Linked DNA regions of Homo sapiens: all the other regions are linked to region 2. The links are contacts of gene promoters, found by promoter capture Hi-C in human tissues and cell types (Jung and others, 2019). All regions are on one chromosome and are shown on one strand. Each heading gives the region's core, a stretch centred on a gene start or on the middle of the fragment in contact. The rest is flanking DNA. Distances are from core to core; before and after follow the strand shown. Region 1 overlaps ZNF287 (zinc finger protein 287). Region 2 holds the start of FLII (FLII actin remodeling protein). Region 3 overlaps CCDC144A (coiled-coil domain containing 144A).

Region 1 (3,501 bases), core at 359-2,858, 1.7 Mb before region 2:
GTGGCGCCCCATATTTGCATATGGGTGGGAGGGCCAGCTCTTCCTCTGGCTATTTGAAGACATGCCTAGTCAAACCAATCCCCTGAGCCCTATGCAAATCAAACACTGCCTTCTCCAGCCTCTGTATATATACCTAGCTGGTATCCGTGGCAGGTGGGGACCTTCTCTTTCGGCTTTGGAGCCCCCTCTCCTGTCTCTGTACAGGTGAGCTGCTTCTTTCTTCCTTCTCCCTTCCTTCTAGCCCCTTCTTGCCTATTAAACTCTCTGCTCCTTAAAACAAAAAACAAAACAAACAACAAAAAAGAAACTCTATGGGAAAGAAGACAAAAACAGATTTAAAAAACTTTCAGTGCTCTAATCTCATAAAAATACATAATTCTATAAAATTGTAGGTACATACTCTTTGTACTCAGAATTTCCATTTAACATTATTTTACAAGAAGAACTCAACTAAGTGCTGGAGCTATGCGGTTCCAATCCTTATTCTGTCATTATATGACATATGGCCTCAAGCATGACATTTCAGCATCATGGGCTTCACTTTCCCCATTCATACACAGTGCAGGGCTCGATGCTGTTTACACACACGCATTTGTACATATCACTGTAGTGCACATGCTTGCCATTTTTAATGGTTATAGTGTTCTAAGGGGCTAATAATTATGAAAGATAGAGCCATGGGGAGAACAGAAACAGAGGAGTAAGAATACATTTTCGGGCACATGCAAGTGAACTGACACCAGAAGACAAAGAATGAAACATAACAGCCTTAAAGTTTTAGAGACCAAATAAAGGTTTAGTAAGAAAAACTAGTACTTAGATTTGCATGAAACAGATCCTTAGGATTAATATTTAGATCTTACCAGAAATCTGCCTTAAGAGATGTGATGGGAAAGGAGGGCTATTAGCTTATAAACACCGTAAGTTATAGACATATAATAGTTAAAACACAACGTATTAGGTATACATCTAGTTGCTTTCTTAATTGCCCTCTACTTAACCCACTTGGCAGATTAACTGACAAGTTCTATTCCCTTGTAAATTTCCTGATGGCATTGTCACAGGCCTTTTGCAGCTAATTTGCTGCTTTCTAGCATACATAACATGGAAGTGTTCTCTCCAATTTAGGTGCATGCTTAACAAGATTTAGTTGTTTGCACCCGAAAGTTTATCCCAGTTATGTAATTATATCCCTCATTACACAGATATTAGGTAACTGATGGCATGAGTGAAGAGTTGTCTTTATGAAAACCAACTTGAATGGTTGGAAAGAATTGCCAGTGACACTCCGGGAGCAGTGAGAATCCCTAGTGCCCAGATCTTGGTTTCTAAATAGCTACCTATTAAAAGGAGCCAGGGATTCTTGGAAAAAGGTTTCATTCCAGGCCTGGGGCATTGAAAATGCAAGGCCAACTTGAGATATCTTGTGTTAGAAGGCAATCAAGTGTCCAAAGACTAGAGAGTGAATGTCAAAAGGACATAAGAGATACTTGAAGGGCTCCACCTGGCCAAATTTGGGACAATCTGAACATCAGAAACAATGATCATAAATGACTTAACACATTGAATCATGTGTTATCACTGCAGATGAAAGCATCAAACTCTTTACTGGTAATTAAACTCCTACACTGGTAATTAAGGTAAAATAATTGCTGACTGTGCCTCTAGTGCATTCCTAGTTGATGAGGGAACATTATACAAGAATGCCACTCAACAAGTGTAGAGTGATAGAATTAGAAAATTGTCATTTTGCAAACATTGATGAGACAATGGATTCAGGCAACGATCACCGTTGGTTACTTTTTACCAGGTAAAAAGTTGTTGGCAATCAAAATATCCATGTGCTGCCAGTGTCAGTCCACAGATTAATTGCAATAGGAAAAACTACCTTTATATTGGGAAGATCTGGTGACCTCAAATGAGTGATCCATTGATAATGAGTCAACCTGATATTAATGAGACTTTTGATATGATGCACTATGAAATACATCTGTGAGGTGTTATCATTAAAAATGTTTAAACAACCCAATCAAGCCTTTTGCCCTAACTTCTAATTTATGGAAACTACAGGGGGTACCGGAACAACCCACATGTAAATAATCAGTTGAATCCTGAACATGAGACATTTTTCAAGACAACTGACCTGCTCTCTTAAAGAGGAAAAACTGTCCGGGCGCGGTGGTTCACGCCTGTAATGCCAGTACTTTGGGAGGCTGAGGCGGGTGGATCACGAGGTCAGGATATCGAGACAAGCCTGGCTAACACAGTGAAACCCCATCTCTACTAAAAAAATACAAAGAAATTAGCCGGGCGTGGTGGCGGGTGTCTGTAGTCCCAGCTACTCGGGAGGCTGAGGCAGGAGAATGGCGTGAACCTGGGAGGCGGACCTTGCAGTGAGCCGAGATTGCACCACTGCACTCTGGCCTGGGTGACAGAGTGAGACTCCGTCTCAAAAAAAAGGAAAAACCAAAGTGGGGACTGTTCTAGATAGATGAAACAGATAATCAAATACTATGTGTGAAAACTGACTGGATCAACAGAGGAAATTTAAACACAGACTAAGTCTTCAGATATTAGGGAATTACTATTTGTTTTTTTTTTAAAGGTATGTAAATGTATTGTGGTTATGTAAAAGACCATCCTTATTTTTGTAAGATGCATGCTGAAGTATTTAGAGATGAAATGTCATGTCTGTAAGTTACTTTCCAATGTTTGGTTAAAAAAAATACGGCAGAATGTTAGTTTTTAAATTTAGGTGGGTATATAGTTAATTTTATGATTTTTAAAACTTTCTATATATTTGAAAACTCATAATAAAAAGTTCTGGAAAATAAGGCTATTTGCTAAAAACTGTTGAATAATTTGCGGGTCAGACAACTGTAAAAGTGGGAAAAATACACAAAGATCTAGGGTTCTCCACTATTACTAGTCTGTTATTTTATAAGGGCATCAATTGCCTCTGTTTATCAGTGGAAGACTTTATAAATGCATTATTTACATAAAACATACAAAGGCAGGAAATAACAGAGTAATGCAAAGGAAGGCGCTATGGACTGTCACATGCCACATGCTCAACCAAGGGAAATAAGTGCTGTGTGAGGGATGAAGCAGCATCAAAAAAATAAGATTTTCAAACAACTGTTATTTTAAAAAACAGCTATATAAGCACAGTTTGAGTATTCTGCAACCTGTACTTTGTGCAGGATGATACTATGAAATCAAGGTTAACTAATGTAAGGGAAATGGAAATCAAGTTTTTTAAAGAAAACACTCAATAATATAGCCTTTAGGATACTAGCATCCTGGGTCTTTCCTTCAGTACCTGTTTGTAGGATGGTTTTATAAACAGTAATGTCCAAAGGAAGTTGCATGGTTAATACATGCTTAAATTGATATTTATAGCACCAGAATTGATACCAATTTCCCCTCATTTAGCTCAGGAAAACTTCCTGTACAAAGATGTCCCAGGAAACCTGATTCACGATTTTTAAGCAGTTCCCA
Region 2 (3,790 bases), core at 1,106-3,605:
CCCTCTGTGACACCTGAGCCTCTGAGCCTGACACGGAGGTGGGCAGAAATGCTGGCCCAGCTTGGTGTCTAGCCCAGGCTTCACGTCCCTGACCGGACCTTGGCCCCAACCCCAAGCTCGGTGGCCTCCCGGCCAGCACTCACGCGCAGCGATGGCAGGCTGGACAGCTCCCCATGAAGCGTGGTCAGGTTGTTGTGGCTCACAGACAAGTGTTCCTGGGCCGGAATGGGGAGCACAGGCTCAGCAGGGTGGGTGGGGTGTCCAGAGTCCCTGCCTGCCTCCACAACTCTGCACCATCCAGGAAGGCCTCAGCCACACTGGCCCAACTACCCCTGCAGCTTCCCTCCCTCACTCACCCGGCCTCTTCTTGCACACCTCCCTGGACAGGGTGCCCACTCCCTTTCTTCCAGCTCTGCTCATAGCTGTCGGTGTTCCTCTCTCTGGAGAAGTTGTCTGCCTTCTCCACAGGCTCTGCCCACCTGGCTCATCCACAGGGACCCTCCCCTGCCCGCCCAAACCCCCTTACCAGCTTCTGCAGGGCGGCCAGCTCCTCGGGCAGGTAGCAGAGGCCAGTGCGGTTCAGCTTCAGCCACCGCAGGCTGGTCATGGCCTTGACATTCTCAGGGAAGTAGCCGCCCTGGGGGAAGGATGTCAAGGTGAAGCACAGAGCCCCTGCTCACCACCTTCTATGGCTCCTCCAGCCCATGGGAGCCTTTGGGGAGCCACAGAACCAACTCTCACCATCTGTGAGAACACAGACAAGTCATTTCATCATTGTGCCTCAATTTCTTCACCCATAGAATGGGAATTTTAAGCCCCCCCGTGACAAAAGTGTTGGCCTAAGATTTGTCTCTCCTACTGGATTCTGGGCCCCAGGAGGGCCAGGACAAAACTGGCTTGTTTCAGGTGAAAGCCCAGCATCCGGCTCTGTGGTTAGCTCGGCTCAAATTCCTTCACCTAGCATTCCACACTCTGACTGGCTGCCTGGGGTGGGGGATCCCCCTTCCAAGCCTTTGCAAAGGCGCCACCTGTGCCCTCATCCTGCCATCAGCACACTGGCAACTCACGGCCAGGGTCAAACCCTTGCTTGCGGAGACCGTGGCTCCCCACCCTGCAGGGCAGGCCAGCATCACTGCACTCCCCTGGTGTGTGAACGCCCACCTCGGCACCTCCAGCCCTTGTGGCACCAAGTCTGGGGCAGTAGGTGCCTTCAGTGCCTGCGGCTGATATTCCTTTCCCCCTAGCGCCACATTCCCAGCTGGTGACTCGGACTCTCCCAGTTCAGCAAAGAGGAACGGGGACCCCAGGTTAGGGTGGTGGGGATGGGGTCAGGGAAAAGTGGTGTAGCCACTTGTACTTGGGGTCAAAGGTGTGTACACAGGCAGGTAAACGCAGGAAAAACCTGCCTCCTCGGCCCCAGCCCCAGACCAACAACCCAGGCCGACCCTGCCAGTCACCCACCCTGAAGGTGAGGCTGACCCTCCAGCCAGCTCTCCCTCCCTCTCTTTCTCTGCTTCCCCTTTGGTCAGGCAATGCCTGTCTCATTCTTGAGTCCTGGAACCACCCCGCCGCCCCACCCACTGGCTGCGGAGGGCTGGGCTCCGGTCCCTTTTCTCTCAGTCCAGCAGCTGCTCAGACAACTGCCACCCAGCACCTGGCACACCGGCCTGACACACTCTCCACACCAACAAATCTCACTATACTCCTTGCGTCCAAGGAGGAGACTTTTAAGCCCCTTCACCGGCTGAGAAAGCCTAGGCTCTGAGAGGGGAAGTGATCTGAGAGGCCCAGGATCACACAGTATGGCGGGTGGCGGTGGCGGGGAGAGGGCAGTGATGAGTCGGCTCCACACCCGCCCCTGGGCAGCCGGGCAGCCATCCCTGAGTCAGGGCCTGGCTTGGGCGTGTGACCTCAGAGGGGCGGGGAGGCTCGCCCGATCCCCAGGCCACCATCCAGCCTAGACCGAGAACACGGACGCGGGGTGGGGGCTCCCGGCCGGGCCCCCGGCGGGACTCCGAGCCCAAGCGTCCGTCCCCGGCCTGCCCAGCCTCGGTCTCCCCGTACAGGCACTGGGCGGAGGCCTCGGAGGTCCATTCCTGGCCAGGGGAGAGCCCCACCCCGCCCCGGCCGCAGTCCCTGGGACACGCAGGGCCTGGAGCCGAGCGGGACAGGAAGCGGAGGCCAAGCGGGCCGGGCGGAAGAGAAGGCCTGCAGGGAGGCCCGGCACGCGCCCGGCCCGGCTCACCTTGAAGTCGTTGCCGCTGAGGTCCACGCCACGCACGAACGGCAGCACCCCGGTGGCCTCCATGGCGCCGCTCTCGCTGCCGGGCCGCGCCGGGCTAGGGAGCGCCGGGGCGAGGGCGCTGGGGGGAGCCGCGGGCTGGGCCAGCGCCGGCCCCGCCCCTTTAACCCGCCCGCGCCCGCCGCATTCCGCGGGGAAGTGTAGGCTTTAGGCCTCTTAGGGCCTCAGTTTCCCCGTCTGTTCGAAGACTGCGGAGGCACCAAGGAGTGCGGGCCCCCCCTGTGCTGGAGTTGGAGGCTTCCACGATCTCCAGGCTTAAGTCCCAGCGCCCCAGGGCAGGGGCCGTAACGGCCGCTGGTCGAGGCACCGTCACCTGCGCTGCTGCAGCACATGAAGCTGGCCCTGACCTCAGAGAGATTCTAAACCTCGGCCCCGGGGCGCAGAGGCCCAGGAAGTGCCTGTACTTGGCTGACCGGTGGTAGTGAGACACCTGGATCCTCGGGTCCTAGCTCTCCTGCTTCTGGACTTAGTTTCCTCATGTGTTGTTTTTGTTTTGTTGAGACAGGGTCTTCTTGCTCTGCTGCCCAGGCTGGAGTGCAGTGGTGTGATCATAGCTCACTGCAGCCTCGAACTCCTGGGCTCAGCCTCCCGACTACCTGGGATTATAGGCGCAGGCCACCACACCTGGCTAAATTTATTTATTTTATTTATTTTTTATTTTTTTTGAGACAGAGTCTCGCTCTGTCGCCCAGGCTGGAGTGCAGTGGCGCAGTCTCGGCTCACTGCAACCTCCGCCTCCCGGGTTCACGCCATTCTCCTGCCTCAGCCTCCCGGGTAGCTGGGACTACAGGCACCCGCCACTACGCCCGGCTAATTTTTTTTTTTTTTTTTTTTGTATTTTTAGTAGAGACGGGGTTTCACCGTGTTAGCCAGGATGGTCTCGATCTTCTGACCTCGTGATCCAACCGCCTCGGCCTCCCAAAGTGCTGGGATTACAGGCGTGAGCCACCGCGCCCGGCCTTATTTATACTTTTTGTAGACACGGGGTGCTTGCTATGTTGCCCAGGCTGGTCTTGATCTCCTGGCCTCAAGTGATCCTCTGGTATCAGCTTCTCAGAGTGTTGGGATGACAGGCGTGAGCCACCGCGCCCTACCCAGTTTCCTCATTTGTAAAATACTTTCTAAGGTTGTCACCATGAGCAAATTAACAAAGAATGCACGTGTAGCTCGCAGCATACAGCAGGCGCTCAGTGAGTGGCAGGTTATTATTCCGTTTTGTTTTGTTTTGTGCGCCAGGTTATTATTCCCACTTAGTGTCAGCACCCCTGTGCTCGTACCCCCCTACAAAGGGAGGCTCCAGAAGAGAAGCATCCGTCTTGGTCCTTGCTGTTCAAGGGGGCTCGCCCTGGCTGACACATAGCAGGACCCCAATAAATGAGCCACAGCTGTTATATGCCCAACCATCCTTCGCAGGGGAGGAGGGGGTCTAGTGTCCCCATTTTACAGGAGAAAAACTGATGCCCAGGTGGAGAATGGCCCACACAAGCT
Region 3 (3,772 bases), core at 1,202-3,701, 1.5 Mb before region 2:
TTACTGGAGAATTACTCTGTTCCTTTGGAGGTGTCATGTTTCTTTGATTTTTCATACTTCTTGTGTCCTTAATGTTGATAACTGTGCAGCTGGTGTAACAGTCACTTCATCTAGTTTTAGGGGTTGTCTTTTTTCTGTAGATGTATCTATGTTGTTGGTTGAATATGGTGCTCTGGCATTGATGATGGGTGGGTGCATTGGTGTGGCCTCCATATACTTATGCTTTCTTCTGCTGTAATCAACATCAGCGTCTGTAAGTTCCTCAGTGGCTTACGGTGTGGTTGTTAGTAGCAGGGGATGCTGTGGTGAGGCCTTGATGGTGATGGGGAGGACAGCAGGCCAGTCCTCAGGCACATTGATGGCATACACAAGGATGTATGTGTGATTGGCAGCACCAGGCCATGCTTCCCAGTTTTTGGTGGCAGTGGGTTACCTGAGTGGTCTGGCCCTTGGGCCTCCAGGTGGTGTGTGCTGGGATCAGAGGTGGCAATAGCAGGCCAGGCCAAAGGACCTTGGTGACACTTGTGGCACTGGAGATGACAGTAGCAGCTGGGGGCCGGACCTTGGATCCCTTGGTAGCATGCATGGGCACTGGTAGTGGTGAAAGCAGGCTGCATGGGCATTTCTCTGGCCCCCTATGAGGAACATTTAGGTGGGTACCTAAGGCAGTGTGTGGAGCAGGCTTGTCCACAGGTTAACTGAAGACACGTGCAGGAGCCTTTGCCAGTGGCTGGTGAGGCAGCCCTGTCTTTATGCTCCTGGATGCCACGTGCAGGTGCCGGTGGGGCAGTAGGACTCTCCTTGGTATTAGTGGTAGATGGGGCCTGGGTAAAGGCACAGAGGCCTGGGTGGGGTGGGCTGCTCCTCAGGGTCCTGGACAGTGTATGTGAGCACTGATAGCAACAATAGCAGCAGCAAGCAAAGTGGCCTTGTCTTCAGGCTCTCATATGGCTCACATGGGCGCCACCCCTGGTGGGCTTGACAGGCTTGTTCTCAGGCTCCTGCATGGTACACTTGAGTGGGCCAGTCCTCCGGCCTCCTAAAGGTATGTACAGGTATGCACAGCACTGCCCCTGAAGGGGATAGGGCTGCTGGTGGTGGCAGTGGTGTCAGTCAGGTGGCTCCTAGGCTCTAGACAGCACACACTTAGGATCCCTTTGACCTAGAGTAGCTTCCCTGGTGGGCTATTAGATGACCACCTATTTCCACAGGTATATGGTGCTGTGGGGCTAGGGATTTGGGGGAATCGGTCCTGGTTTTGAGATGATCCTGGTTGGGCTGGCTACCTCAGTTCCCTTTCCTTCTGTCATCAGAGGATCCCTATCAATTTCCTGCTGAATTCCAGTATACTCTCTTTGATGTTTTCCTCAAGGTGTGGTTACCTACTTGCTGTTTTGGTTTTTCTTTTTGAAAGAGGTGAGTGCTGGGTATTCCCAGTCAGCCATCTCGATGATGTCTCTGTCTATGCTGTGCATATTAAGGAATGTATAGACGTGTTTTAAAACCTGCACAATTGACCCTATAACTATAATTTAAAAGATTTCTACCACTTGAAAAACACACTAATTTCTAATTATTACCTCTCACCCCACACACAGGTTTTATTTAATATGGCAGAAGACTCAGGCTTAAAGTGCAAGATCCTAACCTCCCATCACACACACACAAGTTTCATTTAATATGGCAGCAAGCTCAGGCTTGAAGTGCAAGATCCTACCATCTTTATCACAGACGGTAGGGATGCACCCTGGGTTGTGGTTTCTGCGGTATAACCCCTTGAGTGCATTTCTTGTCAACACAAAGACGTAAGAACTAAAGGGACAACTTGTCTACCACTCACCCACCCAGCATTCTCCTAAACTGCCAGAGACCCTCCTATTGAACAGAGAGAAAATGGGAGTCACAAAGGGAATATTAGACCATAGAAATTCTGAAATACAGCCTGATGTGTGCTTCCACTTACTTGATTTGGACTTCATGGGAACCATCCTCTGTGGCTTTTTGTGGTACCTTCTTGGCTCTTTGTTGTATCCTTTTCATAAGCAATGACCTGTGTTTTCAGCTAAGTAGTTTCTTCAGCCAGCTTCCTCCCTGTAGAAGCTCTTAGGTCCTAAGGCCTCTTTTCATTTTTACTGTCTTGTTGTCTTTTAAGCCAAGCTAGCAAGCAGTGCTATTGTTACTATAATTCTCTTAGAGTCTCTTGTGAATTTTACTTGAGTTCTTGTCATTGGAAAAACCACTTGTCCCAATCTCTTTGAGATAAGCACTTCACCTTGTGCTTCCTGTGAAGGAAGCACACTGTTCTGTGTAGTACGACAGTGCCTTAAGATGCGTATACCCTTAAGATCTTTAAGGGAATTTGAGGCACCACCTTAAATCTTTCTAAGGTCTTAAAATAGAGCCTTACACTGACAGTCTTGGCTTCACCTTCAGACTTTCTCCTGGCAGCACCCTGGATTTGATCTTATCTCAGAGGCCATTTATCTCAGCAATACAGATGCTCCTCAGATTAGGATGGGTTTATGTCTGGATGGCATTTGCATTTGTTATGTCTGATATTTGTAATTTATAGGCCATCATAAATTGTAAATATCAGAAGTTATGGGTGGGTTTTCCATTTACGATAATTTCCATTTACAGTGACTTTATCCTGATGTAACCACCCCTGTAAGCCAAAAGGCTTACACATATCATGTCATTACTCAACACATATCATTTTCACAGTATTATAAAAAGTCAGAAAATGGTGAGTCGAACCATGCTAAGTCAAGGACTGTCTATATTTGGGAATCTGACATGTGGAGAGGCTATAAAAAGGATACTGAACCTAGAAAGTCCTGGTTCTTTTATATGTAGTAGTCTTTCTTTAGCTTATCTCTTGCATTGGTTTTACTTTCAGCGGCTGTGTAGTAACAGTGCCCTTTCCTTCAGGTTCCCGTATCGTTTTCTTCACTATCCTGGAGCCCTTCCTACCAGCTTCTTCGAGGACCATCAGGCTTCCACTAACAGTCTCTTTAAAACTCTTCTTGTTTTTGTGCTTATTCTTCTGTAGGTCCTTTCAGCTTCTGATTAGCTCCTGGTCCAATGGTAATCCTACATGTTTTAGTAGTTTTTGTTGTGTTGTTGTTGTGCAATCTATATGTAGTGTCAATATCTGTATCAGTTATTTCTTGGTATATAACAAAATGCAGTGTCTCAAAACAACATCTATTTTGTTCACAATCTGCAGTTTTAGGCAAGGCTCAGTGGGGCCAACTCCCTTTTTCTTTACTTGGCATCAGCTGAGGTGACTTAAAGCTGGGGACTAGAATCATCTAAAGGCTTGTTTATTTACCTGTGCGGCATTCGAAGCTGGCTTTTGGCTGGGACGTTAGGTAGGGAAGTCAGCTCGAACACCTACCTACATGAGGGTTCATGGTATGGTTTGGGCTTTCTCACGGCATGTTGGCTGCATTTTAAGGACAAGCGTCCCTAGAGAGAGAGTCAGGTAGAAGCTGTGTGACTTTTTGTAACCAACTTTAGAAGTCACACAGCAGTTCTGCCACATTGTGTTCCGGAGAAACCGGTTGTCAATGCCAGCTTGTATTTAGGAGAGGGAATGTCATGGGAGAAGTGGCAAGCAATTTGTAGATGTTTTAAAACCACCACTTCACTTACCTTTATAAAATAAAAAACAATCATAATTATTTCCTCTAAAGGAAAGCAGTTATTTCCAACTCAGCACCATTGAAATTTCAGTGCAATTTTTTGTTGTCATTCTTTAATGTGCTCC

Evidence for each region. The method cuts DNA at HindIII sites, captures the fragments that hold promoters and counts their contacts. A contact is called where the count stands out against the background at its distance.
Region 1: a fragment that was not itself captured here is called in contact with the fragment with the promoter of FLII in region 2 in 1 of the 25 tissues and cell types used here (dorsolateral prefrontal cortex).
Region 3: a contact is called between a fragment that was not itself captured here and the fragment with the promoter of FLII in region 2, in 1 of the 25 tissues and cell types used here (dorsolateral prefrontal cortex).

The regions. Positions count from the first base shown.
Region 1 is chr17:16,546,349-16,549,849 of GRCh38, forward strand. ZNF287 (zinc finger protein 287) reads right to left here. Exons shown (of 6, transcript NM_020653.4): 6 at 606-3,501. Among named protein-coding and RNA genes, the nearest start is that of ZNF287, 21 kb to the right of the region's middle. The HindIII fragment of the contact is 5,711 bases long and covers 1-3,501 here.
Region 2 is chr17:18,256,383-18,260,172 of GRCh38, forward strand. It overlaps FLII (FLII actin remodeling protein), which reads right to left and starts at 2,356. Exons shown (of 30, transcript NM_002018.4): 1 at 2,246-2,356; 2 at 527-637; 3 at 144-215. The coding sequence starts at 2,308. RefSeq lists enhancers at 322-988, 1,648-1,727, 1,727-2,228 and silencers at 1,898-2,037, 2,048-2,447. The HindIII fragment of the contact is 13,885 bases long and covers 1-3,790 here.
Region 3 is chr17:16,756,650-16,760,421 of GRCh38, forward strand. The region is part of intron 12 of CCDC144A (coiled-coil domain containing 144A); the gene reads left to right. Among named protein-coding and RNA genes, the nearest start is that of FAM106C, 30 kb to the right of the region's middle. The HindIII fragment of the contact is 6,812 bases long and covers 1-3,772 here.